2 separate regions of the Homo sapiens genome follow, and region 1 is linked to region 2. Evidence: promoter capture Hi-C in human tissues and cell types (Jung and others, 2019). All regions are on one chromosome and are shown on one strand. The core of a region is centred on a gene start or on the middle of the fragment in contact, and the rest is flanking DNA. Distances in the headings are between cores, read along the strand shown.

Region 1 (6,038 bases), core at 3,141-5,640, 340 kb after region 2:
TATGGAATATTTTTCATGCAGTTAATATGTGGTAGCATCAGGTAACTGCAGTACATGTTTACTTTAAAAAAATAATAATAACTTTGGCCAGGCACGGTGGCTCACATCTGTAATCCCAGCACTTTAGGAGGCCAAGGCCGGTGGATAGGTTGAGCCCAGGAGTCCAAGACCAGCTGGGGCCACGTGGCGAAAACCTGTCTCTACTAAAAATCCAAAAATTAGTCAGGTGTGGTAGTGCACATCTGTAGTCCTAGCTACTCACAAGGCTGTGGTGGGAGGATTGATTGAGCCTGGGAGGTTGAGGCTGCAGTGAGCTGCAATCATGCCAATGCACTCCAGCCTGAGGGACAGAGGGAGACCCTGTCTCAAAGCAAAACGAAACAAAAAAGCACACACACAAAGAAACCCCTAAAAAACTAAAAAAACTTAGCTGGACATGATGGTGTGTGCCTATAGTTCCAGCTACTCACAGGCTAAGGCTGGAGGATCGCTTGAGCTCAGGAGTTTGAGGCTGCAGTGAGCTGTGATGGCGCCACTGCACTATAGTCTAGGTGACAGAGCAAGACCCTGTCTCTTAAAAAAAAAATTAACTTTTATGCTTAGGCTTACATGCTTTAATAAACAGTGACTTAGAAATATCAGGGGAACAGGCCGGGTGCAGTGGCTCATGCCTGTAATCCCAGCACTTTGGGAGGCTGAGGCGGGCAGATCACGAGGTCAGGAGTTCAAGACCAGCCTGGCCAACATAGTGAAACCCCGTCTCTACTAAAAATACAAAAATTAGCTGGGCATGATGGTGGGCGCCTGTAGTCCCAGCTACTTGGGAGGCTGAGGCAGGAGAATCCCTTGAACCCAGGAGGTGGAGGTTGCAGTGAGCCGAGATTGTGCCACTGCACTCTAGCCTGGGTGACACAGCGAGACTGTCTCAGAAAAAAAAAAGAAAGAAGTATCAGGGGAACAAACTTGTGAAAGAAACAGACATACGTGAACCTTTCTCATCAAACCTTAACAGCTATCAATCACCATTTATATAAAACTGGTACCATCTCCAATCTCAAGTGTTCTTTTCCACATTTCTGGAAATTTTACCTTAGAATCACTAGTTCTTTGGTTGGCCTTTCTATTTCTACTTCATGTGGGCTACTAATCCTGGTTAAAACTCTTATATGTACGGTAATGGAATCAACGGCTTCGACTGTCTTTTTTTTAGCAAGCCCTGATCAACTAGGAATACGACCACTTACAATTGGCTACTCTCTTTTCTCTTATTCAACAAAAGCAAAAACCAGGAGGCATGTGTAGCTGACCTTACACAGCAACCAACTTTCCAACACTCTCATCAGCAGGAGGTCGTTCTTTAAACTCTCTTAAAATAATTTCATACTTAGTAGCACTATCCAAGTGTCACTGGACCCAATCACTATAATTCATTCTCCTTAGCACTGTCCAACAATCTCTAATTTTACAAAAATACTCAAGAGTGCATCAGAGGCCAGGCGCCTCTGATACGGGCTCACGCCTGTAATCCCAGCACTTTGGGAGGCTGAGGCAGGCGGATCACCTGAGGTCGGGAGTTCGAGACCAGCCTGACCAACCTGGAGAAACCCCGTCTCTACTAAAAATACAAAATTAGTCAGGCGTGGTGGCGCATGCCTGTAATCCCAGCTAATCGGGAGGCTGAGGCAGGAGAATCGCTTGAACCTAGGAGGCAGAGGTTGCAGTGAGCCGAGATTGTGCCACTGCATTCCAGCCTGGGTAACAAGAGCGAAACTCCGTCTCAAAAAAAAAAAGAAAAAAAAGTGCATCAGAAAGAGCTTTTAGGAAGATCCTTTTTATTCATATAGAAGACATTTTAAGACATATTCAAACTTTTTTTAAACAAGAATTTAATGGGTTCCATGACAATGGTCATATGAGGGTCATTCCAGTATAGTCATGTGTATGCTGAATGGGTGTTAAATCATTTCACAATGAAAGGAATGTCCATCCGTTTAAGAAAATCTTCAATACCAGTTTACAGCAACAACAAAAAATGACAACAAAAACCTTTTCATGTATTTAAAGTTACTTGCTACTAACTCTTCATATATACTATATTGGAAAAATTGGTTGGAACTGACAGGCAATTTCATAGTAAGTTCCTAAATATAGCCTTGGGCCTCTTTGACACGTCTTAAGCAGGAACTATGATGAGTCATTCAAAAAGTCTTGCACCTAACAGGAAAAACTTTAATTGCACCCAGCTCTCCCTGGTAAGAATGGGTACAGCCCAGGAACTACTGGTTCCCTCCTGGCAAGAGCAGTTGAAAAAATCAGCTGGGGGTTGGTTGTGTATACTCCTTTTTTAAAATGTTTGGGCATTCACCCAGCCCTGTGGCTATGACATTCTTGGGCAGGGCATGCTGGTAGTGGAAACAGTGAAGGTTATTCAAACCACTAAATTCTCAGCTATATGGAAACTGGCTGACTTACCCCAAGCATGAGTTCTCCATCCTCTCCCTCACCACCTCCACTCCACAGCTAAAATATTAGGTCTCAGAATATAAATTACTTTAGGTCTTTATTCCACTAGGCTACTCAAAGTGAATGTTTTTTTGTTTTTTAAAAACCCGTACTGATCCTGATTATGAGGACTGTATGGTGTTTATAATTATCAATGTATAAATTATACAGATTACAAATATATAAATACAGAAACAAAACTTCTGTATTAGAAGGTGGTCAGAATGAAGATGATACAGTTAGGGATTTTAGTTCACAGAAAACTTCATTATGATAAAGTACATCTAGGATCAAAGATAATTTGGTGTTTTTCTAGTAATATCAAAACAATCAACTGGCAAACACTTTTAGGGCTGAAGAGACTTCCTATTCTGAAGTGTGGGGCCACAAATATCTCACCTTAAAGTAGGGGAAGTAAATAGGCCTCATTTAATGCCACAACCAATAGATTTGGACTGACGGCCCATAGCACCTTGCTGAGAAAGATTCTAAGGCTGTGTTGGTGATTAGCAAAAAAGACTGTTTTCATCCATTAGTCCTGTCTGCCTCAGGTGTGGGAATATGGGGTGAGGGTACACTTACCCTGTATTTGTCATTCCTGGCTTAAACTAATACATTAATTGACGCACCCAAATTTGAATTCAGAATCTGTCACTTAGTAGCTATGACGCTGTGGGTAAATTGCTTATTTCCTTAAGTCTCAGTTTCTTAATTTGTAAAACAGGGATGATGAAAGCACATTTTAGAGGGATTTTTAAAAAAATATTTAAATATTTTTAATATTTAAAGCGGGGTCTGGGACAAGATATGTGCTCTATAAAGAAAAGCTACTATTATTATTATCATTCATGAGTGTTTTTAAATTAATGGTTAAAAAAATTTTTTTTAAGCACAAAACCCTGAAAGCCTAACAAATAAGATAAAAGTGAAGCTGCTGTAGTTGAGGTTTAGCTGAAGGCCCAGGGCCCCACCTACTCTGCTGTGTCCTTCCCGGACAGGCTAGAGAGGCATCTTCAAAGAGCCCCTAGGACCCTAGAGCACAGTTTGAAAATCCCTGAAGAAGGTTATTTAAAAGTGAAAACAATGCTCTCCTTTTGAGGTTCGCTCTGCATTTGTTAGCCAGTTAGGCTTAAACAAGACAGGTCATAGTCAGGGCAAAATGGCCAAATTTAAGGCAGAGGAAAATATACTATGAAGAAACTATTCATGGAAGTAAAGTATTCAAAATCCAGTAGTAAATTTACATGGTTAACATTAGAATAAAATTTAAACATCGAGATTATTTTTAGCAAATAAAATAGGATTCCAATTTATTTTAGGTTATCTTGAAGATACAGTGAGTCTTCAGCTTTGTCTTTATATCTAAAACATGGCTAGATGTAGTTAAAAGAATTTAGCTAGAAAAATAACTCCCAAGAGTTAGCCAAAGATCAGAAGAAAGTAAGCAAAGGACTAAGTAGGAACTCAGAGATGAAAGCAAAGAATGTATGGAACACTCATCAAGCACAAACGCAAAAAGGGAAAATAAAAAGTTCAATCGCTTTTAAAATTCACATTATAAATAATTAAACGAGATTATTTAGATCACTCTCTACTAAAGAAAAAACAAAAGTTTTCTAATAGAGCTAAATAAATATACATAATCTAAATGATACCAATAGTGATGGAATATACCAAATGTTCTGGATATATTAAAGAAAAAAATTATCCAATTATTCACCAACTTTTCCTGCTCAAAGAAGTAAAGCCAGTTCATATGAAGCTGTAGTTTATTCTGAAACCTTTCTAAATGACATCAACAAATCATGACAATTTTTGCTTGAGGAATATTTTCCATCTATTGTGCCTCGTAAGAATCTCCTACATTCCCTCTCCAATGTCCATGACAGAGTCCTGTTCATGAGCTATGACTACGCTTCTCAGAAGTCTTTAAAAGCTTTCATCTCTGAAATTGAAATATAAAGGCCTTAAATATATGCCATGTTCTAATTATTAATTCCAAAATAAAAATGCTTTAAACATACTTAAATTATTATGATGGGACTCAATTACATAGTACATCAATCTTTAGCTTCAATTGCTTGCGATTTTTCTTTAATGGTACAATTAGGTTTTCTGTGAGTGCATGTGGTTAAAAAATAAAAACTGAGTCTCTTTCTTTAGCATATATAAATGCTACATTCTGCCTTTGCAATTACTCCATTAGTCATCTCCAACAATGAATTATGGTGATAAAGGAGGTACTATTTTTTAAAATATGCCACTAGAAAGGACATTAATTACAGTATAATATACTGGAAACATTCTCAAATCTGATTTTTCAAGTTATTTACATCATAAATGCAGAAAACAAACTTCTACAGTGGTAAATGCATATTTACCACTACAGCTAATGCATATTTATCAATTTCCTGCTTGCAAAAAATACTGCATGTCTGTATCATTTGCACTTAGTTTCCCAACATTTAGAAGTCTAGAGTTACACTGATACTATAAGGAAATGACTTACATTAAACATAAAACTTACAGCAAATTGGCATGATGCTACTGAGTGATAGATGCTTGAAGAGTAAAAACTTCCCTTTGTCACGCATATCAATCAATTGCTGCAAATGGCAATAAAATGAATCACCTAGACAGGAAGGATGGTCTTAGGATTCTCAGCTCTCTCATATTCGTAGATTTTATGCCAAGAGAACAATGACATCTATGGTGGTAGCTTTCAAACGGCACACAATAAGCCTTAGAAAATGCATTTGGGTGTTTATTATTAGGGAATTTCCTAACTCATATTTTTAAGTTCAAAAATTGCTAATGAGCATTGATAACTTTTAGGATGTAAATTAGCTAGTGAGAATATTCAAATTCTTCCATCTTAGTGACACAAATGCACTAGACATATACTCTTAATGTTTTTCAAAAGAAGGACAGCATAAAAATAACAAAGTAGCTATAATTTTGAATCTATCCTGCTGCTAAAGAGGCGAATGACTTGGGCTTGAGGGACTTGAAGTTTTACAAGAATTTAATAATAAATACTGAAATATTCCTCATTTCTTTTAGACTATAATCTAAAATGCAATTAAAGAAAAAACCTCTCATCATCCCTGTAATACATTTTCTAAAGGAATTGCATAAATTTATGAATGTTAAAATTACACTGCCTTAAGTCAATTAATTATGAAATTCTTGAATGCCTGGGATTAAGCAACATTTAAATTTTGATATCAAACTGCAAACTTAAGATTAAACTTGCTTCTCCAAGATAAGTGTTATACCAGTGCCAGCAAATTAACATCCTAGTTTATAAAAAATAATTCTTGATGCCTCTCTTTAAAATGTATTTTTGGGCATCAATTTTTGATATCAAATATTCAATTCTTAGTCTTGAAAAGTAAAACATTCAACTGAAAAAGGGTAAACAGCGTGGATTTCTCACATTATTCTTACAGAAATGAAAACAGAGGCTGGGTGTGGTGGCTTACACCAGTAATCCTAGCACTTGGGGAGGCCGAGGCAGGAGGATTGCATGAGGT
Region 2 (5,524 bases), core at 2,492-4,991:
AATAATTTTTAAAAGGAGCTACTAATCTCAACAAATCCAACTATTAAAGTTTCACAGGGACAAAAAAGAACTACCACCAGTGGGTACAAATTTGTTATATGTTTTGTTCTGGCTATGGTTACACCTCTTGATTTTGGAAACATGATTATTTTGCTGAATCTTAAATTTTAAAAAAACACTGAACATAATGTCAAATTGAGCCTGATTTTCTTCCTTCCTTCCTTCCTTCCTTCCTTCCTTCCTTCCTTCCTTCCTTCCTTCCTTCCTTTCTTTCTCTTTCTTTCTGATACATGTAAAAAAAATGTTTTAGTTATCTTTAGGGCTCAGAACTCAAAGGTTTAAGAATCACTGGAGATCTGAAGAAACCAGACAGGAGCCAGCCAGCTACTATGTGTTTAGGGAGTGATGCTCACTCCAAAGCCTACTCTCGTTCTTCCGCAGCAGTGCTTCTCAAACTTTGACCAAAGCACGCGGACAGTAGGGGAGAATGGATTCTATCTGCAGGAAGAAGACAGAGTCCAGGGCTGCGAGTTTTCATTCAAAGTTCACACTAAACTTCACACTATTCTTATGTCTGTTTTAATATAAAGAAATACGCTTTGAAATGCACATTTCTTTATACTAAACCTCCAGCACCTTCTACCCCTCCTTTTATTTTTCCCTTACTTTTTCATGTAGACACTTAATGCCTCCACAAAATCATATTGTTCACTTATCTTCTTTGATTATTGTCTGCTTCCTCCCCGAGGGAGGGTTATTTTGTTCGCTGCTGCACGCCAGCACCAAGAACAAGACCTGGCACTTGTCAGGACTCAACAAATCCATGCAGAATGAACGATGAAATGTTTTAGATGAGGATGTGTTCAATCCAACTGTTCTGGAGGGGCTCCTTCTTTATCCCATGGCTCAGAGGCACATTTCCTCATTCTGAGTGGCAAGCGCTCCCAGTTTTGGAAGAAAAAAATGTGTTACACTTAGGGAATGTGGGGGAAAGAAGCAGCAATGACTCTTCCCCACTTGCTTGGCATCACAAGATACTTTTTGACTTCTGAGCCCATGTCATGCATGTAGTGTGTCATGTGCCCACATCATGAGATCTTTTCTTGATTCCTGATGAGTTAATTTGATTTTATTCCCACTAAGTGTCCTCTGATTTAATGAGGGTGGTCTTCAGTGGCCTGCACTTGCCTAGACAATGCTGCTCTCCCTGCCTGAACAGATCCTTCTCATCCCTCAAAGCCCAGCTTGGGTGAAACCTCTTTTTTGACATTAGCCTTCATTTAATGGTTTGAAAGCCAAGGCCAGGTCTTTTTTTTTTTTTTTTTTTTTTTTTTTTCCCATTCAGAGGCAGCCTTTCCAGCAATGTGGGGCCAGGGAATGGATGTCTATGAAGTCTATTGAAGTGGCCTAAGAGAAACAATAAGCTGATTTCAAAGCATATACAGCAATTTTAAAAGAATGTACAATAGTGTATCATCTTTCACTAAGTCACAAATGCCAATCACCAATTCATTTAACTCTGTATTTCCTCTAGGTTCTCAGGAAAACATTTACTTTCTTTCATCTATAGCAATTTTAGGCACAAAAAGCTACATGCTTGGCCTGACCATGGTCCTCCGATGACAAGTTGTTGGTCTTTAAAAGCACATTTTGCTAGTTACTGACATTACTGAGCTTACTTAAAAGAGAGCTACCTTGTTATTCTCTGAGAGTATCCCAAGCCACCTTGTTTACCTACCATTACAATGTTTAGTATGATAAGCCCGCATATAAACCCTAGCTTGTCCCAGGCACTCTTGTAAGCTGATTGCATTTATTCACTCATTACTCTGCAAAACAACTTTACTACTATGATCCCCATTTCACAGATGAGGAAACAGGCACAGAAAGAGGATGAGTAAAAGTAAAGCTGGTAAGTTCCAGAGTCAGGATTCGGACCTAGGTGCTCCTGAGACCATGTGCCTAACTACTAGCCAGCTTGCCTCACACCTTTGTCCTCCTCCACCTCCTCCATACCTGTCTGCCCACCCCTTGCCCCGATCTTTCCTTTTCATGGCCAGAGAAAGATCCTGCTGCCTCACTCTAAAATCATCTCCCAAATCAACGAAGCTAAATTTCTTCCAATTGGGATGAAACCACCTTAATGTTCTTTCTTAATTCTTTGCACACTCTAGCTGATACTGATTATTCACTTATTGGCTAGCCCCTGCTATTCCATGCTTTGATCAGACACACCCATCTCTTAATGTTCTGTTTTCTTCTCTCTGAATTCCTGAACAGAATATTTACAAATATAAAGTCCAACAAGAAAATGGTGTGATCTAAATGGGGTTTCGGAAACATAAATCTGGTGGTGGCATCTGAGGAGGGAAAGGGAGGGTGTGTGGGTGAGAAAATGGGTGTGTAGAACTGTTAGAAACTTCCACTTTTGAAGTCACAAAATGCTGTAAGAGCTTTGGGAATGGAAAGGAAGGGGTGGATTCAAAATGCATTTTAGAAAGAACAATGGGTTGGACTTGTGGGCAATTGCCTCTAGGGATAAGGTAGAGAAGGGAGTTAAAATGATACCGCTATTTTGGGCTCAAATGATTATAATGAGAGTTTCATCACCTGAAATAGGTACATCAGGAAGCTAATCTGATTCAGGGAGAACAAAAAGTTCATTTTAGAATCTTTGTCATCATCCCTGTTCAACAGTTGGAAGCCACCATAAGTGAGCATTTAATGAGCCCCATTCAAGTGTCTAACAGAGCATATGATGTTAAATGTCCAACAATAATTAACTGAAGGTGAATACACCTTTTATTCTGGCCCCACGGAGGTGCCTACCAGGGTATTTGATGCGTAAGATCCTCCCCAGCCCTCCTCTACAGGGATGGAATTGGGGGTATGATTTGAATGTAAGAAATACGACTTAAGGCCGGGCACGGTGGCTCACACCTGTAATCCCAGCACTTTGGGAGGCCAAGGCAGGCAAATCATCTGAGGTCAGGAGTTTGAGACCAGCCTGGCCAACATGGTGAAACCCTGTCTCTACGAAAAATACAAAATTAGCATGGCATGGTGGAGCGCGCCTTTAATCCCAGGTACTCAGGAGGCTGAGGCAGGAGAATCGCTTGAACCCAGGTGGCGGAGGTTACAGTGAGCCCAGACCATGACATTGCACTCCAGCCTTGGCAACAAGAGCGAAACTCCATCTGAAAAATAAAGAAATATATATAAATAAAAATTAAAATAAATAAAAGAAGAAATACCACTTACTACATAGCCTAACCCCACGCAATAGCAAATATATTTTCTTTATCACACCTAAAAATCGTCAGAAAATGGCAAAATTAGTCATGTTATGTGCTTGATTTCCAGATTTGGTCTTACTTCATATTAATTTCTTAAGTAACCAACTCAAACGATCTTGAACTCCCACCCATTTGTTTCTTCAAAGTCCTGAACAATGCCAGAAGAGAGTCTACAGATCAGACAGTGCAAACAGAAAGCTTCTTGGAATTCAGCCATTAAAATCAGGCACTCAAGGTAGAATAGCAGGAGTAAAAGCTGAAAGACCTACACACTCAGCACAGAGCCAAGGCAGCTCAATCGCAGGGCCTAGAGTGGTGCGTTCAAAGAGTGTGAGATTGGTAGACAATCGCTCATGAAACAGTGTTTCGAAAATCTAAGCGACTCTGATGATTCATATTAGGAATTCATCCCAAACCTCAGATTGGTACACCTTCCTTGATTTCACACAAGCTCAGGAGTAGCTGCCATGCACATCAGTGTCCATTAAAATGACTTGTAGCAAATCTCTACGTTCAAAGTCTAACTTTGACAGACAACCTTACTTCCAGCGAAGTCTACTCCCCTCCCTCCGGAGGGAAGAATGGGCTGCGGTTAAGCGTTTGCCCTGGTGTCAGGGCCAACTGCTTCGAAGCGCCAGACTTTCGGAGACTGTGGGTAAGAGAAAAAAAAAATCCAGTCCGGGTTTTGTCTGAGCGGGGGGACCGGAGGGTTGTGAGGAATGGCTCGCGAAGAGGGGGGCGGTGGTGGAAAACATACAACACAAACAGCTCGCGCCGAGGCACGGCAGCGGTAGGCCCGGAGCGCGCGGGCGCAGCCGGCCGGGAGAGGCGCGCGCGGGCTCGGCCGCCGGCCGCATGGAGCGCAGCGCGGCCCGCGGCTCCCGGGCGGCGGCGGCGGCGGCGGAGGCGGCAGCGCGCCGCTCGCTCACACCCACCCCCGCCCGCGGCCGCCGCGCCGCCCCGCCGTAGCCGCCGGCCGCCGGCGTCCCCGCCGGCCGGTCCAGCGAAGGCGGCGCCCGCGCCTCTGCAGCCAGTGGCAGCCGCGGGTCCTGGCCGGCGGCTCCTGCAGCCCCTTGCGGCCGCGAGTCCCCGGCCCTGCGGCCACCGGCGGAGGCAGAGGAGGAAGAGGAGGTGACAAACTCTCCGGCCCCGCGCCGCGGCCCGCAACCCCGCGCTCAGGCATGCAGGCGCGGCGTCTAGCCAAGCGCTCCAGCCTGGGCAGCCGCCGGGGGGGCGCCGCGCTGCAGCCTGCCGGGCCGGCGCCCGCGCCCGCCAAGGAAGCCGCCCTACCCGGGCTCCCGCCCCCTGTCCCGGGCCCGGCCCCGGCGCCCGCCCCGGAGAGCTGGAGGCCGCCGCTGCCGCCGCCGCCGCGCAGCGCCGGGACCGGCCCCCCTCGGGCCACCGGGGCCGCCGCCGCCGCCTCGTCGCCGGTGCTGCTGCTTCTAGGGGAGGAAGACGAGGACGAGGAGGGCGGGAGCAGGCGGCGGAGGGGGCTCGGGCGTGTGGAGGAGAAGCCCCGAGGGGGCGCGGAGGAGGAGGATGACGACGAGGAAGAGGAGGACGAGGAGGTGGTCGTCGAGGTGGTGGACGGCGACGAAGACGACGAGGACGGCGAGGAGCGTTTCGTGCCCCTCGGACCCGGCCACGCAGTCCCCAGGGGCCCGGCCCGGGGCGCGTTGAAGGTGCGTGTTGGGCGCGGTGGCGCGCGTGGGACCCGCCAGCCCGGGGAGGGGGACGGGCCCGGGCCCCGGGGCAAGGCGCCTGGCCGAGGACGGTCAGCGGCGCCGGGGAGAGACCCGGCCAGGAGGGGTGTGTCAGGCGGCGCGGGCGGCCGCGCGGGGCAGCGCGAGGAACTGTTGATTTGCCTGCGCCTTGGGCCCCTGCGTCTCTCCCAGGCGGCGGCTCCCGCTTTCCTCAAAGGCCGTGTCGGGTTTGTTGTTTGGTGTGGGTGCCGGGAAAGGGCGCTTCTCCCCAGTGAGGTGGGGAACTTGGGTGATGGGACCACGGAGGCGCCGGTTCGTGCCCGGTGGGGACGGGTGAGGCAGGGGAGAGTGAGATTTTATTCTCCCCCAAGGAAGGAGTGTCCCCTTCTCCTTATTTTGAGGGCTATTCAAGCTTATTGAAACCAGAAAGCGGTGTTTCTTGTCAATCTCTCAGCCCCTTCTTCCAACCAAGAACAATTGTCGATGAGTTTCCATCACAGGCGCTTGTGAGAGAACCGGTAAACC

Evidence for each region. Contacts are between HindIII fragments. The study calls those that stand out against the background at their distance.
Region 1: a contact is called between a fragment that was not itself captured here and the fragment with the promoter of ZNF704 in region 2, in 1 of the 25 tissues and cell types used here (thymus).

Annotation. Positions count from the first base shown.
Region 1 is chr8:80,530,806-80,536,843 of GRCh38, reverse strand. No RefSeq gene overlaps it. Among named protein-coding and RNA genes, the nearest start is that of LINC02986, 5.8 kb to the left of the region's middle. The HindIII fragment of the contact is 4,459 bases long and covers 2,161-6,038 here.
Region 2 is chr8:80,872,998-80,878,521 of GRCh38, reverse strand. It overlaps ZNF704 (zinc finger protein 704), which reads left to right and starts at 3,741. Exons shown (of 9, transcript NM_001033723.3): 1 at 3,741-3,951. RefSeq lists a silencer at 4,862-5,062. The HindIII fragment of the contact is 4,011 bases long and covers 1,731-5,524 here.